Linked DNA regions of Homo sapiens: region 1 is linked to region 2. The links are contacts of gene promoters, found by promoter capture Hi-C in blood cells and fetal thymus (Javierre and others, 2016). All regions are on one chromosome and are shown on one strand. Each heading gives the region's core, a stretch centred on a gene start or on the middle of the fragment in contact. The rest is flanking DNA. Distances are from core to core; before and after follow the strand shown. Region 1 holds the start of TRA2B (transformer 2 beta homolog). Region 2 holds the start of ATP11B (ATPase phospholipid transporting 11B (putative)).

What was found. Contacts are between HindIII fragments. The CHiCAGO score rates a contact against its expected background, and 5 or more counts as called.
Region 1: the fragment with the promoter of TRA2B here is called in contact with a fragment that was not itself captured in region 2 in 1 of 17 cell types (naive CD4 T cells); the score reaches 5.2 in naive CD4 T cells.

Annotation. Positions count from the first base shown.
Region 1 is chr3:185,936,708-185,940,542 of GRCh38, forward strand. It overlaps TRA2B (transformer 2 beta homolog), which reads right to left and starts at 1,307. Exons shown (of 9, transcript NM_004593.3): 1 at 1,118-1,307. The coding sequence starts at 1,153. RefSeq lists enhancers at 529-738, 641-1,368, 779-1,238. The HindIII fragment of the contact is 7,639 bases long and covers 1-3,835 here.
Region 2 is chr3:182,793,360-182,797,094 of GRCh38, forward strand. It overlaps ATP11B (ATPase phospholipid transporting 11B (putative)), which reads left to right and starts at 145. Exons shown (of 30, transcript NM_014616.3): 1 at 145-427. The coding sequence starts at 401. It overlaps ATP11B-DT (ATP11B divergent transcript), which reads right to left and starts at 5. Exons shown (of 3, transcript NR_187316.1): 1 at 1-5. RefSeq lists a silencer at 1-729. The HindIII fragment of the contact is 794 bases long and covers 1,997-2,790 here.

The DNA of each region.
Region 1 (3,835 bases), core at 57-2,556, 3.1 Mb after region 2:
CCACAGCCTCAAAAATCAATTTCTATGGTGCTTTTCTATCACCCTTCTAACAGATTCCTCTTAATTCTAGCAAGCCTCGTATGTTCGCATCATTCAATGCTTTCCGAATCCAATACCCAGAGCCCCACAGACCAGCTACGTATGCTGTTTAAACCCTAGAACTGTCTTGTTCCCGCAATTCAATCAACCCTCACTGAACACCTTTAAGAGGTGGAAACTTAAGGGAAAGAAAACTGTAGCCAACACACGCTGTGGTTCTAAGTATTAGAACGCCTCAAAACAAAGGAAATAACGGCGCCGTAAATGGTTGCCCGCCAATTTCTCCTTCACAATCCCGTGGAAATGCGATGTCCACAAAATCATCTTAACGACTTTGTGGTCTGTCCTAATAGAATACTGATACAGATTTTTGCCTGGGAAGCCCTTTCGGCATCAGAGAAAAGCGCTTCATTTAGGCCAAACACAAAGCCCTCACGCAATCCCCTCCACCTAACGGGCCCAGAACTTAGTCGGCCTTGGATTAGTTTCCATCTTAAGAGGCCCCAAAGACATCCCAGACTCCGTCCTTTCCGTGGAGGCAAAGACGGTCCTTCGTTAACCTAAACACCGGCCCAAAGACCCAAAAGAACGTCGTCTGTCCCCTTGCACCCCACCACGCGGCCTTACGAAGCGCGGCCCGCTGCGGGTCGGGTCCGCGTTGCCGCGCGGCTTCTCCGCCATTTTGTGCCTCTGGCAGCTCGCCCAGCCCGCCAGCCCAAGATGGCTGCGGCGGACCTTCGCAGGAGAGCAACGCCGAAATAAGATATCGCTCCCCTCCCCCAACACCGCGGGGACGCAGCGGCCATTTTCATCTTCCCCCTCTTATAACGGGAAAAACGGCCGTCTCGGGCAGAAGCCACATAAACCCGCCGGGGGCCTCCCTCCTTCACGACCAAAGGCACTAAGGCACTATCCACAAAGGCTTTTTTTGGTTAAATGCTGTCTCCCTTGCCTGCCCTCCCGGCTTCAGACTTCGGAGCCTAAAACGCCCCTGCCTCCTGGCCCGAGGCCGACGGGCCTAGAAAAAGATGCAAGGAGCTAGGACCACACAGCCACCCCCTACCGCAGCTCTACGTACCCGCTCGCCGTAGTTCTGCTCGCCGCTGTCGCTCATGACTCCTGGCTGCTGTCGCCGGTCGATGTGCTTCAATCGAAGCTGCCAACCTCTTGCACCTTCCTTAAGGAGGCTCCGCCGCAGCCCCGCACGACGCGCCGGTCGCCCAGCCGCTCAGAGCCGAAATGCTCCGCACCGCCTCCGCACGGGCTCTAACTCTACCGGATGTGACGCGGCGCTCCTTAGCCAGGCTCCTCCCCTCCCAGAAACGCGCGCTTTCTTGGCCTCGCCCCTCCTCGCTCTGCCTTTCCTCTCCAGCTGCAGCGCGTCCCGCACAGGAAGTGACGTGACCCCGCCCCTCGCAGGGCCCCACCCCCATTCACGAGCCTCTATGAGGCGGGAAAGCTAGCGTGTCGTTTGGCTGCTGTAGTGGGCGCCACGGAGCCACAGTGATGTCACCAGCCACTTCTGAATCCCTTCTAGAACTTTCCAGGGAACCTGCCGAGTGTGCAGGGAGGAAGGAGATGCTGTTTCCCCCAATCTCAATTCCTTTCTCCGCCTTATTAGTTTCTTGTTTTGTGTCTTTCCTTTGTTAGAGAAGTGAATGTTCGTACATTGGGTTCTTACTTAATTTTGTCTTACTTGTAGATATTTCCTTCCTGAATACGTCTTCATTTAAAAAAGGTCAGATCGGGCTGGGCGCGCTGGCTCACGCTGTAATCCTAGCACTTTGGGAGGCCGAGACGGGTGGATCACGAGGTCAGGAGATCGAAACCATTCTGGCTAACCCAGTGAAACTCCGTCTCTACTAAAAATACAAAAAAATTAGCCAGGCGCGGTGGCGGGCGCCTGTAGTCCCAGCTACTTGGGAGGCTGAGGCAGGAGAATGGCGTGAACCCAGGAGGCGGAGCTTGCAGTGAGCCGAGATCGCGCCACTGCACTCCAGCCTGGGCAATAGAGCGAGATTCCGTCTCAAAAAAAAAAAAAAAAAAAAAAAAAGGTCAGATCGGCTGGGTGCGGTGGCTCACGCCTGTAATCCCAGCACTTTGAGAGGCCGAGGCAGGCGGATCACATGGTCAGGAGTTCGAGACCAGCCTGGCCAACATGGTGAAACCCAGTCTTTACTAAAAATACAAAAAAATTAGCCGGGAGTGGTGATGCATGCCTGTAATCCCAGCCACTCGGGAGGCTGAGGCAGGAGAATCGCTTGAACCCGGGAGGCGGAGGTTGCAGTGAGCCGAGATCGGACCGCTGCACTCCAGCCTGGGCGACAGAGCGAGACTCTGTCTAAAAAATAAATAAATAAAAATAAAAAAGGTCGGACCTTAATACACAGGAATCAGACACAATCTCTATTCTAAAGTTACAAAGTAATGTGCTAGAACCGTTAAACACAATTAGAAAAAATGATTGTAAGTGCCAGAGGCATGTATAACTACAGGGGTGTCACAAGGAGGGAAGATTAATTCTGCCATTTCGTAAGAGAATATAGTTGGATTATAGTGAGAAGAGCCCAAGACCAAGTCGGATACTTTCTTTCTTCTTTTTTTTGAGACGGAGTCTTGCTTTGTCGCTCAGACTGGAGTGCAACGGCGCGATCTCGGCTCACTGCAACGTCTGCCTCCCGGGTTCAAGTGATTCTCCGCCTCAGCCTCCGTAGCAGCTGGAATTACAGGCGCCTGCCAACACGCCAGGCTAATTTTTTGTATTTTTTATAGAGACGGAGTTTTGGCATATTGGCCAGGCTGGTCTCCTGGGCTCAAGCGATCCTCCCACCTCGGCCTCCCAAAGTGTTGGGATTACAGGCGTGAGCCACTTCCCCCAACCCCCAAGTCGGATACTTAATTCCTCTACACTTCAGTCTCCCCATCCATTGAAAAGGTGGTACCTGGCTGATGAGGCACTTTGATACTGGTAAAGGGTCATTTGATTTTTTTTTTTTTTTTTTGAGACAGGGTCTCTCTGGCTCTGTCGTGCAGGCTGGAGTGCGGTGGCTCATTGCACCTCCCAGTCTCAAGTGTTCCTCCTGCCTCAGCCCCATATCCCCAACTCCTGATTTTTTTTAACAGCTTTATTGAGATACGACTCACCTACTATGCAGTTCCCTTATTTAAAGTGTACAGTTCAAATGGCTTTTATTCACAGAATTGTGCAACCATCACCACAATTTTAGAGTAGTCTCATCACATTAAGAAAAGAAACACTCATTAATAGTCATTTTGCATCCCTCCTCCTCTCCACTCCTCACAACCCTCCCAGTCCTAGGCAATCACAAATCTTTCTTTCTCAATAGATTAACCTATTCAGGACATTTTATATGAATGGAATCATATGGTATGTATCTTTTGTAACTGGCTTCCTTGGCGTACGTTTTCACGGTTCATCCATGTTGTAGCATGTACTACTATTTCATTCTTTTTCATTGTCAAGTTATATTCAGTTGTATGGATATATGACATTTTATTTATCCATTCATCATTTAATAGACATTTGGATAGTTTCCATTTTTTAACTTATGAATAATCCTGCTGTGAACATTCATGTACAAATTTTTGTACGAGCACATGTTTTTATCTCTCTTAGGTATACACCTAGGAATGGAATTGCTGGATTGTATAGTAACCCTACGGTTAATTTGGGGGGAAACTGCCAAACAGTTTTCCACAGTGGCTGCATTCATTTTACATTTCACACTGCCACCAGCAGTGTATGTGGCTTCCAATTTCTCCACATCCTCACCAA
Region 2 (3,735 bases), core at 1,144-3,643:
GCCAGGCCCCCCTCGGTCCGCGCACCCCCTTTCGTCACGTCCGGGGGCGGGCCGGGGCGCCGGGGGCGGTCCCGGGTGGAGCCGGGGGGCCGGGCGGGGCGGGGCGGGGGTGGGGTTGCGGGGGTGCTTTGGGTGACAACGGTCAATAATGAAGGTGGCTGCGGCGCGGCGGCAGGCTCAGCTGCGCCGGGCGGGGGCGGCGCCGGGGCCGCGCCTGTAGGACTCGGGGCCGACGCCGCGGGATGGGGACGCGGCGCGGGGAGTGAGGCAGTGGCGGCGGCGGCGGTAAGCGGAACTTCGGCCCGAGGGGCTCGCCCGCTCCCGCCTCTGTCTTGTCGGCCTCCACCTGCAGCCCCGCGGCCCCCGCGCCCCGCGGGACCCGGACGGCGACGACGGGGGAATGTGGCGCTGGATCCGGCAGCAGCTGGTAGGTGCCCCCGCCCCTCCACCTCCATTCGTCCGCCCCCGCGGGGCCTCTCGGCCCGGGGTGGCGGGGAAAGGCCGGCGGCGCGGAGCCGGGAGGCCAGGGCGTGGGCGCCCGGCTAGGCCGCAGCGGAGACGGGCGCGGGGCCCAGAGCCGGAGAAGCCCCGTGCGGCTCCCGGGCTCGTCTCGCCTCCAAGCCCGGGCCGCCGAGGCTGGCGCCGAGCGGCCGGAGGCGGCCGCTTCTAGCCGGCGCTTCTCCGTTACTTCTTCCCCCTTGCCGCTCCGGGGCTGCTGTGGCCAGAGGCGGGAGTCCCGAGCGGGGTGGCGGTGCCCCCAGAGGAAACAGGGCGAGGGAGCTGAGCGAGAGTAGGTCTTGGGGAGATGAGAGAGGCGTGCTCTTCCTGCCTCGAACAATTTGGGACGTGTTTGGGTGAAGGGGAAGCGAAGAACCTGTCTTCTGCCCCCACTCGTCACGGACTTCTGGAAGCGTGTCACGATCCAGAGCTGTGTTGATTCCCGAGGAGGAGGCTGTCGTAGGTGTCTAGCCCCCTCAGCGAGAGACGTTTCTCCCCAGGACCTGGAAAGGGGAAAGACTGTGCCAGCTGCCGGTCTAGCTTCGGAAACGATACGTATTGTACGATAGTTACGAACGATACGTACTGTCGTTTCCTTCCTACCTCGTCCTCACCCCACCCCGAGTGAAACTTTTCGAGTGTGAACCTTACTTTTTTCCCGTTCTCCTCAAGGCAGTTTGAACGACACAGGTTTGGAAGGAATAGTTAACTCTCCAGTATTATTGGAACATCTGGACACCACCAACAAAAAATCTTAGAAAAGGGTCATTTAAGGCCTATAAAAAGTGCCACCTTTCCCAGAATTAATTCAGAGAGAAAAATCTTATCTGCCTCCTGGCAGCTACAGCGCAGAAAGTACAGCATTAAGGCAGCTGTGACAATTAGGACAGAAATTGCCCCTGGCTGAAGAAGCCTAACCTTATCTGTGTGATGAGGCCGGTTACTATTTAATTTCTAAATCGCATTAACTTAATGCTTCTACAAGTTGGCGTTTTCATTTACTAATTCTAAAGGCAGTGGTAAAATTTAGTGAAACAGGAACTATTTTTGTGGGACGAAAGCACTGATAACTCTTTTTCCCTTCTGCTCTAGAAAAGCATTTTAACGTTAAGACCAAGAAGTGTGGTGTTTCAGAGCCAGCCTTCTGTTACTTCGTTTTGCAGCGGGCATCATTCTCAAAAAAAAAAAAAAATTATAAATAAGAACTGCCTACCACTCCCTCCTACAAATGTTGGGTCTCTGTTTTTAGCATTGTAAATTCAGATATCCCAGATATATGCTTTATTAGGAAACCAAGCTAATGATGTCATTATAATACCATCTTGTAATACTTTGGCTTTGTTGCAGTAAGCTGTAGCACAGTAATTTTACTCAGAAAGTTAATTATTACAGATTTGATCTTATGCTTTTGATTTGCCAAATCTTCTTGTATAGAGGGCTGATTTACCTGATGGTGTTTTTGTGTGGTAGGAAGATCATTTTAAAGTGGTTCTCTTGAAGCTTTTTTAAAAATGTATTGAGACATCCTTTCTCACTGTTAGGTATTTTTTAGCCAGAATAAAATCCTGGTTGTATAACCATGCTCATCTTCAAGACAGAAAACCTGGTAATGTTTTTTAAAATGGCTTCAAATGAACCCAGCTAAAAGGAAGGGCCGGAAGTTGTGTGTGGTTATTTTACAAGGCAGCCGTCTTAACAGGGATGGTTAACGAGTTGAACAAGTTCCTGTGCATAAAAAATGCTATCTCTGACATTTAGTTGCTCACCTCACTGGTTTTAAGTTATCAGATCCTCTAAGTATGTAATCATACTTGGGCCAATGTAGGACTTTGTGTCTCTGGTTAAGTTTGTATGATCACATAAATTAAACATCAAGGACCCTGGATACAGAGTAATGAAAGTATATTTTGCTATCCCAGTCATAGACAGCTATTCTGATTACTGCACCAGAAATTATTCAACTCAGGTAAAAGCTAGTTTAGATTATACTTCCAGTGGCTTAATGGATTGAATCACCACGACTTTCAGCAATGGGTTTATTTTAAAATGCAGATAACTAGGACAAATTTGGGGAAATTGACAAGCAAATCCTAAGGACAGGTTGGAGTTATAAGCATATTTAATTCGTTATATGAATCCCGATTTTCAACTAATGTCTCACAAAAAAGTCCTTTTATTACAGAAACAATGCCTATGTTCTAGTAATTTCTTTTTAATTAAAAAAAAGTGTGACTCCTTATGACAAAATATTTTCACTACTTGAGAAGATGGAAAAATCAGAAAGTTGACAGAAGCTTGATCTTTTCTATTGGGAAAGTAGGCTGAAAATAAAAAGATTGGAATATCCTTTTTTGTTTTTCTTTTTGGCACACAATGTTAAAGTTACTTGACACTAAGAAAATTCTCTTATGGTGTCTTTGTGGTACAGTTAGTATTATTCAAAGTATACTCATTTTCAGTACCATATTTTATGTATTAACTCATTAGAGATGACAATACCTTGATTATAATTATGGAAATGCCATTAGCTACTCACTGTATTCTAATATTTAGACCTGTACGGTAGCCATTAGCCACAAGTGGCCATTAAAATTAAAATTGGAGCCATATGTGGGTATTAAAATTAAAATTTGAATTCATGTGTCTATTGGCTGCCATTGGCTGCCATATTGGACAGTTCATATTTTCATTATCACAGAAAATTCTATTGGACAGCACCAATTTAGACTTTTAAATGAAAGTCTGTGTCAGTACATATTTGAATGTAATACTACATTTTTAAAGCACTTGCTGTGTGCTGGTATTAACAGATGCTGAATACCAGGGATACAAATGTTGGTCAGGGTCACACATACTCTACATAAGTAGACATTGGATACATGTTGCTGAACAAATAATTAATAGATGAGGAAAGAAAGAATGAATCTGTAGTGTTGTTTCTGTGTTTAGAGACAAAAATGACCAAATTTAAGATTGACTAGCCCAGAAAAAAGTTAGAAAATGAGTAATTACACAAAAACAGTATTACTAGGATAACTGTTTCTTAAACTGTTCCATAAATGTAATCCCTTTAGATTGTATTGGCGATGGTGGTAGGAGGCTGCTAAGATTGTCTTCTGATTAACTGAGAAAAATGAGAAGGTCTTAATCTGAACTCCCTCAACTTTCTGTTCTTCCTCACACTCACCGAACTTGCTTATATTTTATACTGGTACTTAATTCTTCCCTTCACAGTCA